Linked DNA regions of Homo sapiens: region 1 is linked to region 2. Evidence: promoter capture Hi-C in 16 types of primary human blood cells and fetal thymus (Javierre and others, 2016). All regions are on one chromosome and are shown on one strand. The core of a region is centred on a gene start or on the middle of the fragment in contact, and the rest is flanking DNA. Distances in the headings are between cores, read along the strand shown.

The links. Contacts are between HindIII fragments. The CHiCAGO score rates a contact against its expected background, and 5 or more counts as called.
Region 1: a contact is called between a fragment that was not itself captured here and the fragment with the promoter of CCNB1 in region 2, in 3 of 17 cell types (neutrophils, erythroblasts and M2 macrophages). The highest score is 6.9, in neutrophils.

What each region holds. Positions count from the first base shown.
Region 1 is chr5:69,497,765-69,503,523 of GRCh38, reverse strand. The region is part of intron 1 of OCLN (occludin); the gene reads right to left. Among named protein-coding and RNA genes, the nearest start is that of OCLN, 7.9 kb to the right of the region's middle. RefSeq lists an enhancer at 3,193-3,742. The HindIII fragment of the contact is 5,611 bases long and covers 794-5,759 here.
Region 2 is chr5:69,163,091-69,168,462 of GRCh38, reverse strand. CCNB1 (cyclin B1) reads right to left here and starts at 1,313. Exons shown (of 9, transcript NM_031966.4): 1 at 1,180-1,313; 2 at 385-555; 3 at 120-290. The coding sequence starts at 1,200. RefSeq lists enhancers at 1,058-1,287, 668-1,633. The HindIII fragment of the contact is 10,262 bases long and covers 1-5,372 here.

The DNA.
Region 1 (5,759 bases), core at 2,350-4,849, 330 kb before region 2:
GACAGCCAGCGCTGGGGTCCTGGCTCTTCCAGGCTGGTGTGGTGCTGATAACACAGGTGGCTAGCTTATGGAACAGTGAAGTGGGAGCATGGTGGAATGGTGTCATCTTTTAAAATAAGGTTACAGTAAGAATATAGTGGATGGAGGATGAGTAAGAAAAGGGAGGGCTTTGAAAGTCTAGTGGGAGTGTCTCACTTCCTTCAGGTAGGAAACAGGGAGCCAGTTCGTGATTCTCGGCAAGGGAGGTGTAAGTTTGATTTGAACCAGATTTGAAAGACAAAGTCAACAGTAAAAAGGAGCACCTACAGTCAGCAGCAGCAAACCTAGGTGTGAGGCAACAATGAAGGACTAGCTTAGGAGACAGAAGATAGGAAGGAAACTAACATTCATCAGACACCTACCGACGTGCTGGGTGCTTTACATAAAACCTCCTTTCATCCTCAAAACGACCCTCCATGGTTGATTAGTCACTTTACAGATGCAAAGAGGGTCAGAAAGAGATGTGAAGTAATATGCTCAAGGTTATATGGATGTCAGTGAGTCACTCAGATGTAACTTGAACCCAGATGATTTCATGTGCTTTTCACTATGCTAGTTTGAAACAATGAGTTCCATTTGGGAAACACCAGTTTTTGTGGGGAGTGCACATCTGGTGTTAGCATCCATGAGGAAGTGAAGATGGAGGTCATCTGCCTACGTCCGTAGGTGGATCCATGGGCACTGAGAGCTCTCCAGGAAAAAGACAAGTCTCAGCAAGATGTGGTAAACACACAACCCCCTAACCTATAAAGCTTGAGGATTATTCTAGAAAACCCAGTGCTGGAGACACTGGCAAGGTACTTCCCACATCAGCTACAGAACTTCATGCCACTCCTTAGCTATGTTGAACCAACAATAAATTCTTTCCAGGTTATACCAGTGATTAGTAGAGTAGGGAACTTTGAGATCTACTGGAAGGTAAATTCCATGTGAGCAGGAATTTTTGCATGTTTTGTTCACTGATTAAATCAATGCCTGGCACATAGTAGACGTCCAGATAATTTGTTGAATGTTTACAGGAACCAGATTGGACCATGGATATCTCTGCCTGCAAAACCTCTTGTGCTTTCAAGTTGAAGGTAACGGAAAAGTATCAGAGTAACTTTAAAAGGTATGATCCCTGAATGACACTTGAGTAACATCTATAATGAGTACATTAAAGTATCTGATTTTTTTTCCTTTTCTAATACGGTCTGTACAATCATACATTAATATATTAACAACAGTACATCAATTCAGACTCTTAAAACTTTTTTTTAAATTAATGGCAACTCTTTTTTTTTTTTTTGAGCCGAGTCTCGCTCTGTCACCAGGATGGAATGCAATGGCATGATCTCAGCTCACTGCAATCTCCGCCTCCCGGCTTCAAGCGATTCTCCTGCCTCAGCCTCCCGAGTAGCTGGGACTACAGGCGCACGCTGCCACGCCCGGCTAATTGTTTGTATTTTTAGTAAAGATGGGGTTTCACCATGTTGCACAGTCTGGTGTCAAACTCCTGAGCTCAGGCAATCTGCCCTCCTTGGCCTCCCAAAGTGCTGGGATTACAGGCATGAGCCACCACGCCCCACCTGGCAACTCTCTTCTATACCCTTTAGGACAGTGTATTTCAAATCTCTCAGAATTAAACCCTGCCCAACTATGTATTAGATAAATCCTCAAAGATGGAAATATATAGAATGTTAATAACACCAACACAATTAGCATAATTTTCCAAAGACATGAAGGAAGATGACTTTTCTACATTTTTAAAAGCCACTTTTAAAGTATACCATAGAGAAAAGTGCACAAATCATAAGTGTACACAGCCCTGTAACTAGCACTCAAGTCAATTTCTCTATACTTTTTTTTTTTTTCTTTTGAGACAAGGTCTCATTCTGTTGCCCAGGATGAAATGCAGTGCCATCATCTCAGCTCACTACAACCTGCCTCCCAGGCTCAAGCAATCCTCCTGCCTCAGCCTCACAAGTAGCTGGACTACAGGCACATGCCACCACGCCTGGCTAATTTTTGTATTTTTAGTAGAGATAAGGTTTCACCATGTTGCCCAGGCTGGTCTCAAACCCCTGAGCTCAAGCTATCCACCTGCCTTGGCCTCCCAAAGTACTGGGATTACAGGCATGAGCCAATACACCTGGCCAATTTCTCTATATTCTAGTAATGGTGAAACACACATACAAATGAGCAATTTAGGCGAAAATGTTATGGTACTATAAAAAGGCAAAAGTCCAGATTGTCTTCAGAAAAAGAACATTAAGGAATACTGAATTTAGGCCAGGTGAGGTGGCTCACACCTGTAATTCCAGCACTTGGGAGGTGGAGACAGGTGGATCACCCTAGGTCAGGAGTTCGAGACCAGCCTGGCCATCATGGCAAAACCCCGTCTCTACTAAAAATACAAAAATTAGCTGGGCATGGTGGCACGTGCCTGTAATCCCAGCTACTTGAGAAACTGAGGCATGAGAATCGCTTGAGCCCGAGGTGGAGGTTGCAGTGAGCCAAGATTGTGCCACTGCACTCCAGCGTGGGTGACAGAGCAAGACTCCTTTAAAAAAAAAAAGTAAAACAGAAAATCTGAAGTTAAGCACTATTAAATGTGGGATCCTAGTTCTGAAGCTGAATGTCAAATATCCCCAAATTCTAGGTTCAGTGGTAGTTTTGGAAACTCTAAATTAATCCAGACTCAGTCTTAAGTTGTCAAAAATTCAAACAAGATCCCTTTTCAAACTGCTATTTCCAGGATTCAGAGTTGTCACGTCTCCCCAAAAGCACGGATTTTAAATTGTGAACCAAATCATGTGGCTCATGCCTGTAATCCCAGCACTTTGGGAGGCCGAGGCAGGTGGATCACATGAGGTCTGGAGTTCAAGACCAGCTGACCAATGTGGTGAAACCCTATCTCTACTAAAAATACAAAAAATTAGAGGGGCGTGGTGGTGCATGCCTGTAAACCCAGCTACTTGGGAGGCTGAGGTAGCAGAATTGCTTGAACCTGGGAGGCGGAGTTCGCAGTGAGCCAGTATTGCGCCATTGCACTCCAGCCTGGGCAAAAAGAGCAAAACTCCGTCTCAAAAAAAAAAAAAAGAAAAGAAAGCTCGTTAAGAACAAGTCATGCCACACCAACTTCATTTCCTTTTCTGGGAAGGTTACCAAACTGGTGGATTTTATTTTCTCCTTTATTATTTCCTCTTCAGGGAATGCAGAGAGAAAGAATCCTGAAAATCTTGAGCACATCCTTGTGTGGGTGGGCAGATTCCCAAGGGGCTGGATTACGGCACCCAATTAGCACAAAAGAATGAACCATTTATGTCCACCTGGTGGGAGGTCTCCACTGGTAAACACAGACAAAGTGGAGGAGACACGCTTATCCAGATTTGCAGCTGACCAAACACACTGGAAAGGATAACTAACCCATTGGCTAGGGCCATCAACACTAAGCAAGATCTCTGTAATGTCAGAATGATGAGTTTGAAACAACCTAGTGGTTTTAACAGCCCCCATTTACTGGCTCGCAATCTGAGACAAATTCCTTATCTCCTCTAAGTGCACTCAAATGCGGGAATAATCCTGACCTCTGCACTGGGATAAGAAAAAGTCTTAAAGAGCTGGGCGCAGTGGTTCACGCCTGTGATCCCAGCACTTTGGGAGGCCGAGGCGGGTGGATCACGAGGTCAAGAGATCAAGACCATCCTGGTCAACATAGTGAAACCCTGTCTCTACTAAAAAAATACAAAAATTAGCTGGGCTTGGTGGCGCGCGCCTGTAGCCCCAGCTACTCAGGAGGCTGAGGCAGGAGAATCGCTTGAATCCAGGAGGAGGAGGTTGCAGTGAGCTGAGGTCACGCCACTGCACTCCAGCCTGGCGACGGAGCGAGACTCCGGCTCAAAAAAAAAAGAAAGAAAAAAACCACAAGAAAAAGTCTTCAAGAAAATGGGCAACTGCATTCATCATAAGGTGGTTATCCTGAAAGTAAGAAATTTCAGTGCTTAGGCACTTAGGTATATTGTATCCATTTTCAAATACAGCTGACCCTCCACATCCATGGGTTTTAAATTCTGATTCAACCAACCTCAGACAGAAAATATTCAGGGGAAAAAAAAATTAAAAATTACAGGGCAGGTACAGTGGCTCACACCTGTAATCCCAACACTCTAGGAAGCTGAAGCAGGAAGATCACTTGAACCCAGGAGTCCAAGACTGACCACAGCAACATAGTAAGACCCCATCTCCACAAAAAATTTTTCTTAAAATTAGCCAGGCATGGTGGCACATCCCTGTAAGTTCCAGCTACTCAAGAGACTGAGATGGGAGGATCTCTTGAGCAGAGGAAGTTGAGGCTGGAGTGATCATGCCACTATACTCCAGCCTGAGTAACAGTAATACCCTGTCTAAAAAAATAATAAACAATAAAACAAAAAATAGATTTTTAAAACTACAATATCACAATTCTACATAGTATTTACATTGTATACGGTATTATAACTAGAGATTATTTAAAGTCTACAAGAGGTCTGGGTGCAGTGGCTCACACCTGTAATTCCAGCTCTTTGGGAGCCCAAGACGGGCGGATCACTTGAGGTCAGGAGTTCGAGACCAGCCTGGCCAACATGGTGAAACCCTGTCTCTACTAAAAATACAAAAATTAACTGGGATTGTGCCGGGTGCCTGTAATCCCAGCTACTCAGGAGGCTGAGGCAGGAGAATCGCTTGAGCCCAGGAGGCAGAGTTTGCAGTGGGCCAAAATTGCATCACTGCACTCCAGCCTAGATGATGGAGTGAGATTCTGTCTCAAAAAAACAATTAAAAAAAAAAGTATACAAGAGCATTTAGGCCATATGCAAATACAAAGCTATTTTATAACAAGGACTTCAGCATCCTCAGATTTTAGTATCATGGGGGTCCTGGAAGCAACCTCTCACAGATACTGAAGGGTGACTATATTGGTGGCATAAATGAGTCATTTTTAAAATGTAAACTGATTTTTTTTTTTTTTGAGACAGGAGTCTTGCTCTGTCATCCAGCCTGGAATGCAATGGCGTGATCTCGGCTCAATGCAACCTCCACCTCCCAGGTTCAAGCAATTCTCCCACCTCAGCCTCCTGAGTAGCTGAGATTACTGGCACATGCCACCAGGCCAGGCTAATTTTTGCATTTTTAGTAGAAACGGGGTTTCACCATGTTAACCAAGCTGGTGTCAAACTCCTGACCTCAGGTGATCCACCCACCTCAGCCTCCCAAAGTGCTGGGATTACAGGCATGAGCCACCATGCCCAGCCATAAACTGAATTTTTAAAAAGTCAATTCCATAGTACAGTATAGAGGAGAACTAATTTAATAATCGTTCTTTTTTTTTTTTGAGACGGAGTCTCGCTCTGTCGCCCAGGCTGGAGTGCAGTGGCGGGATCTCGGCTCACTGCAAGCTCCGCCTCCCGGGTTCACGCCATTCTCCTGCCTCAGCCTCCCAAGTAGCTGGGACTACAGGCGCCCGCCACTACGCCCGGCTAATTTTTTGTATTTTTAGTAGAGACGGGGTTTCACCGTTTTAGCCGGGATGGTCTCGATCTCCTGACCTCGTGATCCGCCCGCCTCGGCCTCCCAAAGTGGTTCATTTTTAAAGGTGCATTTCTTTGGTAAGAATTTCAACAAAAGCTAACAACCTATCCCAAACTTTATTCACAGAAATAGTGCTCATATCTAGGAATAATATGCTATTAAAAAGAACA
Region 2 (5,372 bases), core at 64-2,563:
TGCTAAGCACTCAATAAATGGTATTAATATTACTATTCATTTGAATGCTCTTGCATGTATCAGTGAAATAAGGGACAAGAAATAATCAACAGACTCTACAATGGTAAGAATAAGTTTACCAAAATAGGCTCAGGCGAAAGTTTTTCTTCTTTAACAGGCTCAGGTTCTGGCTCAGGTTCTGGCTCTGGCACTGGCTCAGACACTGGCACTGGCACCAGCATAGGTACCTTTTCAAGAGGTTTTGGTAGTTTTTTATCAATGACTTTTCCAGTAGCTGAAGGTTTTGCTTCCTGTAGATGAAACAGAGAGAATGAAATGTTTCTGCATCAAAGGCCACAGTTGGAAGGCGGGCTCTTACAGAAGTTAGGTCAGGAAGAGAGTTACCTTCTTCATAGGCATTTTGGCCTGCAGTTGTTCACTGACTTTGTTACCAATGTCCCCAAGAGCTGTTCTTGGCCTCAGTCCGGGCTTGGAGGTTGCAGCAGGGGCCGTAGGAACGCGCTTTGCGCCTGCCATGTTGATCTTCGCCTTATTTTCAGCATTAATTTTCGAGTTCTGAAAGAAGCAAGACCACTTTAAGAGCTGATCCACGAAGGCTCGAGTAAGTCAAGGGTTAATTAAGGTGGGGCACAAGGAGAAGTTCCCAGAAAGAAAGCCGACTAAAAATGGGTTCCGAGGGAAAACATGGGTCCCAGAGTCTACTCTGCGGCCGTGACAAGTCAGTTTCCGCCGACCTCTACATTTACCAATTGAGGGATTCCCTGATTAGTCCTGGCCAGCCCTAAAATACCGAGAATTTACATTTGAAAGGAAACCGAAAAAGCCTCCAATTGCAGACACCTTCTCTCTGGGAAGGGGGTTACAGAGTTGCTGGCGGGCCCACTCAGGGACCCTCTATCACTTTTTCAAAAGGTTCCCAGTCGACTCTCCACCTCCCCAAAACATTTATCCAATATCCGTCCAGTTCTCTTTCTCACCTTCCTCCCTCCATCCATCGTCCCCCACACTCTCTCACCAGGCCTGGGCCCACCTCGGCGCTCTCTTGGTGAGTCCCCTCCCACCTTCCTCCCCAAATCGCTCCTGCGGCCCTCTCCCGCTCGGGAGGCTCCCGCAGGCGAGGCAGGGAGAGCAGGCAGCAGCTAAGAAGGCCGCGTTAGTTCGCAGTCCGAAGCGGCTCACCCTGGTGACTCGGAGCGCCATGGCTTCCTCTTCACCAGGCAGCAGCTCAGCGGGGAGAAGCAGAACACCGGAGGCCCGACCAGCCAAGGACCTACACCCAGCAGAAACCAACAGCCGTTCCGCCGCAGCACGCCGAGAAGAGCCAGCCTAGCCTCAGATTTAAACCCCGCACTGCTCCCTCCTTATTGGCCTGTTCGTGGCACTCACTCCCTTCCCATTGGCGGCTGCCGGTCGCAGAGAATGCGTTTCCAGGGCGATCGCGCGAAGGCGTTCGAGAGGGGCGGGGCCACAGTGAGGCTAGGCCGGAAGGCCTGGCCAGGCTCTCACGTGGTCTGCCTCTGCGCCTGCGCTCTCGGGCAGCTGCAGCGGCCACCTGGAGAGCAGTGAAGCCAGTGCGCCGCCCACCTGGAAAGGTTAGCCGGGCAAGAGTGTGCGTTGCCAATGCCAGCTCAGGAAAGGCCTAGTGGCCTTTGGAAGGTGACAGAGGCGCGGCCACAGTCTCAGAAGTGTCAAAAGTAGTTTTGGATCTAGTGTTGCACACTTTCCATTTCTACGGTAGCAGCAATAATATAGTTCATGAAAGGCTTTAATAGACATTCTTTCATTTGATCGTTGCAACAACTCTCTGGGTTGGAGGAACTGAAGCTCAGCGACTTAGATGACTTTGCCAGGGTCACACATTAGCAACGGGGGAACTGAATTTAGGGTTTTTTTTTTTGAGGGGGAGGGAGGGGGTGTATCCGTGTTGTTTTCACAACACTGATTGTCCCTTAACAATATTACTTGATTACTTCAAGATTGTCCAGTTTCCCAAGGCCAATTGTTTTGTTTGTTTTAGCTTTCTATTTGGAAATAATTTCATACTTAGACCAGTTGCCAACAAAAATCTTGTAAGGAATATTTCTATGCCCTTTACTCAGATTCAACTATCCTTAACATGTATTTGCCTCTCATGGGAAAATCAGGAAAAACTAAACAAAAAGACATTTTACCCCATTTGCTTTGTCATTTGCTCAGATTCTCTCTAGATCCAAAGAAAAACAAGAGGGTTCTTTTTGCCTTCTACTCCTCAAAACACACCAGCAGCTCAGCAATTGGAGGGGAGGCTGAAGGACAAAAACATTGCTATCCCATAGAGCAACGGTATAAGAGCCAATAGAGACTCCTGGCGCTGGAAGTCACGGATCCGAAAGAAGGCGCCCAATCATTTGGTTTCTTTGGATCGTTATTGAGTCTTCTGTCATCATAGTTCACCCTCCTACTCGAATGCCTCCCGTGGGGCCCTTACCCTTGCTCTCCTCTGCCTGGAATGCCCGCCTCTTCTTGCATTCAAGCCCCTGGGTTCTATTCAGGTAACTCCCATTCATCCTTCAGTTCTGTGTTCAACATCCATTCTCACTCAGTCTTTCTGGGTTTGATCAATCCTTCCTCGCCCCATGCAGGGGCGAGAGGCAAGGGGCGAAGCAGGATTACTTATCCTCTGTGTTCCAGTTTAAAAATTTTTTTTTTTACTTTTTTTTGAGACGGAGTCTCGATCTGTCGCCCAGGCTGGAGTGCAGTGGTGCGATCTCGACTCACTGCAACCTCCACCTCCAGGGTTCACTCCATTCTCCTGCCTCAGCCTCCCGAGTAGCTGGGACGGCAGGCGCCCGCCACAACGGCCGGCTAATTTTTTGTATTTTTGGTAGAGACGGGGTTTCACCATGTTAGCCAGGATGGTCTCGATCTCCTGACTTGGTGATCCGCCCGCCTCGGCCTCCCAAAGTGCTGCGATTACAGGCGTGAGCCACCACGCCCGGCCAAATTTTTCCTTTTATATGCTTTATTTTTTAGAGCAGTTTTAGGTTCGCAGCAAAACTTAGCAGAAAGTATAGAGCATTTCACCTGCCTTCCCCACTATTGACACCCCACATTAAAGTTGTACTTTAATTATAATCTGTTAACCTACATTGACACCACAGTATTACCCAAAGTCCATAGTTTACATTAAGGTTCACTCTAGGTGTTGTGTCTTCTACGGGTTTTGACAAATATATAATGACGTATAATGTCCACCCGCCTCAACCTCCCAAAGTGCTGGTATTGAAGGCGTGAGCCACTGCACCTGGCGGTCAGAATGGTTTCTTTTACTCAAATATGCATTTAAGGTTCTTCCATGTTTTTTTCATGGGTTGGGATCTCATTTTATTTTAGCCCTGAATAATATTGCATTGTCTGGATGTACTAGTTTATTTATTCAGTCACCTACTAAGTGACATCTTGATTGCGTCCAAGTTTTGGTATGAATATAACTGCTACTAACATCTGTGTGCAGATTTTTGAGTGGACGTAAGTTGTTTTTGTTTTTCGTTTGTTTGTTTGTTTTTTGAGACGGAGTCTTGCTTTGTTGCCCAGGCTGGAGTGCGGTGGCGCCATCTAGGCTCACTGCAAGCTCCGCCTCCCGGGTTCACGCCATTCTCCTGCCTCAGCCTCCCAAGTAGCTGGGACTATAGGCGCCCGCCACCAGGCCTGGCTAATTTTTTGTATTTTTAGTACAGACGAGGTTTCACCATGTTAGCCAGGATGGTCTCGATCTCCTGACCTCGTGATCCACCCTCCTCGGCCTCCCAAAGTGCTGGGATTACAGGCGTGAGCCACTGTGCCCGGCTGAGTGGACATAAGTTTTAAACTCATTTGGGTGAATACCAAGGAGCAAGACTGTTGGATCATATAGTATGTTTACTTTTGTAAGAAACCGCCAAACTGTCTTCCAAAGCTGCTCTACCATTTTGCATTCCCATCAGCAATCCTCACAAGCATTTGGTGTTGTCAGTTTTTAAAAAAATTGTAGCCATCCTATTAGGTGTGTAGTGGTAACTCATTGTTTTTTGATTTGCAGTTCTCTAATGACATATGATATTGAGTATCTTTTTCTGTGATTATAATCTGTATAACTTCTCTGTTGAGGTATCTGTTCAGGTATTTTGCCTAGTTTTTGTTTTGTTTTGTTTTTTGAGATAGGGTCTTACTATGTTACCCAGGCTGGAGTGCACTGGTGTGATCATAGCTCACTGTAACCTCAAACTCCTGAGCTCGGGCAATTCTGCCTCAGCTTCCCAAGTAGCTAGGACTGTAGGTGTGAGCCACTGTGCCCAGCTAATTTTTTTATTTTTTATTTTTTGTAGAGATGGGATCTCACTATGTTTCCAAGGCTCATCTTAAACTCTTGGCCTCACAAAGCACTGGGAATATATATATATATATATATATATATATATTTTTTTTTTTTTTTTTTTTTTTTTTGAGATGGAGTCTTGCTCTGTCGCCCAGGCTAGAGTGCAGTGGCTCGATCTCGGCTCACTGCAACCTCTGCCTCCCGAGTTCAAGTGATTCTCCTGCCTCAGCCTCCCGAGTAGCTGGCACTACAGGCGCCCACCACCACACCAGCTAATTTTTGTATTTTTAGTAGAGACCGGGTTTCATAATATTGGCCAGGCTGGTCTCAAACTCCTGACCTTGTGATTTGCCCGCCTTGGCCTCCCAAAGTGCTGGGATTACAGGCATGAGCCACCACGCCCGGCCGCACTGGGAATATTATAGGCATGAGCCACTTTGCCCAGCCTTTGCCCAGTTTTATTTTTGTTTTGAGACAGTGTCTCTATTACCCAGCTAGGGTGCAGGGGCGCAAACATGGCTTACTGCAGCCTTAATCTCTGGGTTCACCAGAGCCACCGCACCTGGCCTCAGACTAATATTCTTCTTTTTATTTTTTTTAATTATTTCTTTTTTTCTTCTTTTGTTGTTTTTATTTGTTTTTTGGACTAATATTCTTAATAGTACATTTTGTCATGTTTATTTTTAATTTTTATGCATACATAATAGTTGTACATATTTATGGGGTACATGTTATATTTTGATACAAGCATGCAATGTGTAATGATCAAATCAGAGTAATTGGGATATTTATCTCCTCAAACATTTATCATTTATTTGTGTTGGAAACGTTCCAACTCCACTCCTTTAGTTATTTGGAAATATACAGACTGGGTATGGTGGCTCATGCCTATAATCCCAGCACTTTGGGAGGCCAAAGCAGGAGTATCATTTGAGCCCAGGGGTCCGAGATCAGCCCGGGCAACCTGGCAAACCCCATCTCTACAAAAAATACAAAAATTAGCTGGGATTGGTGGTGTATACCTCTAGTCCTAGTTACT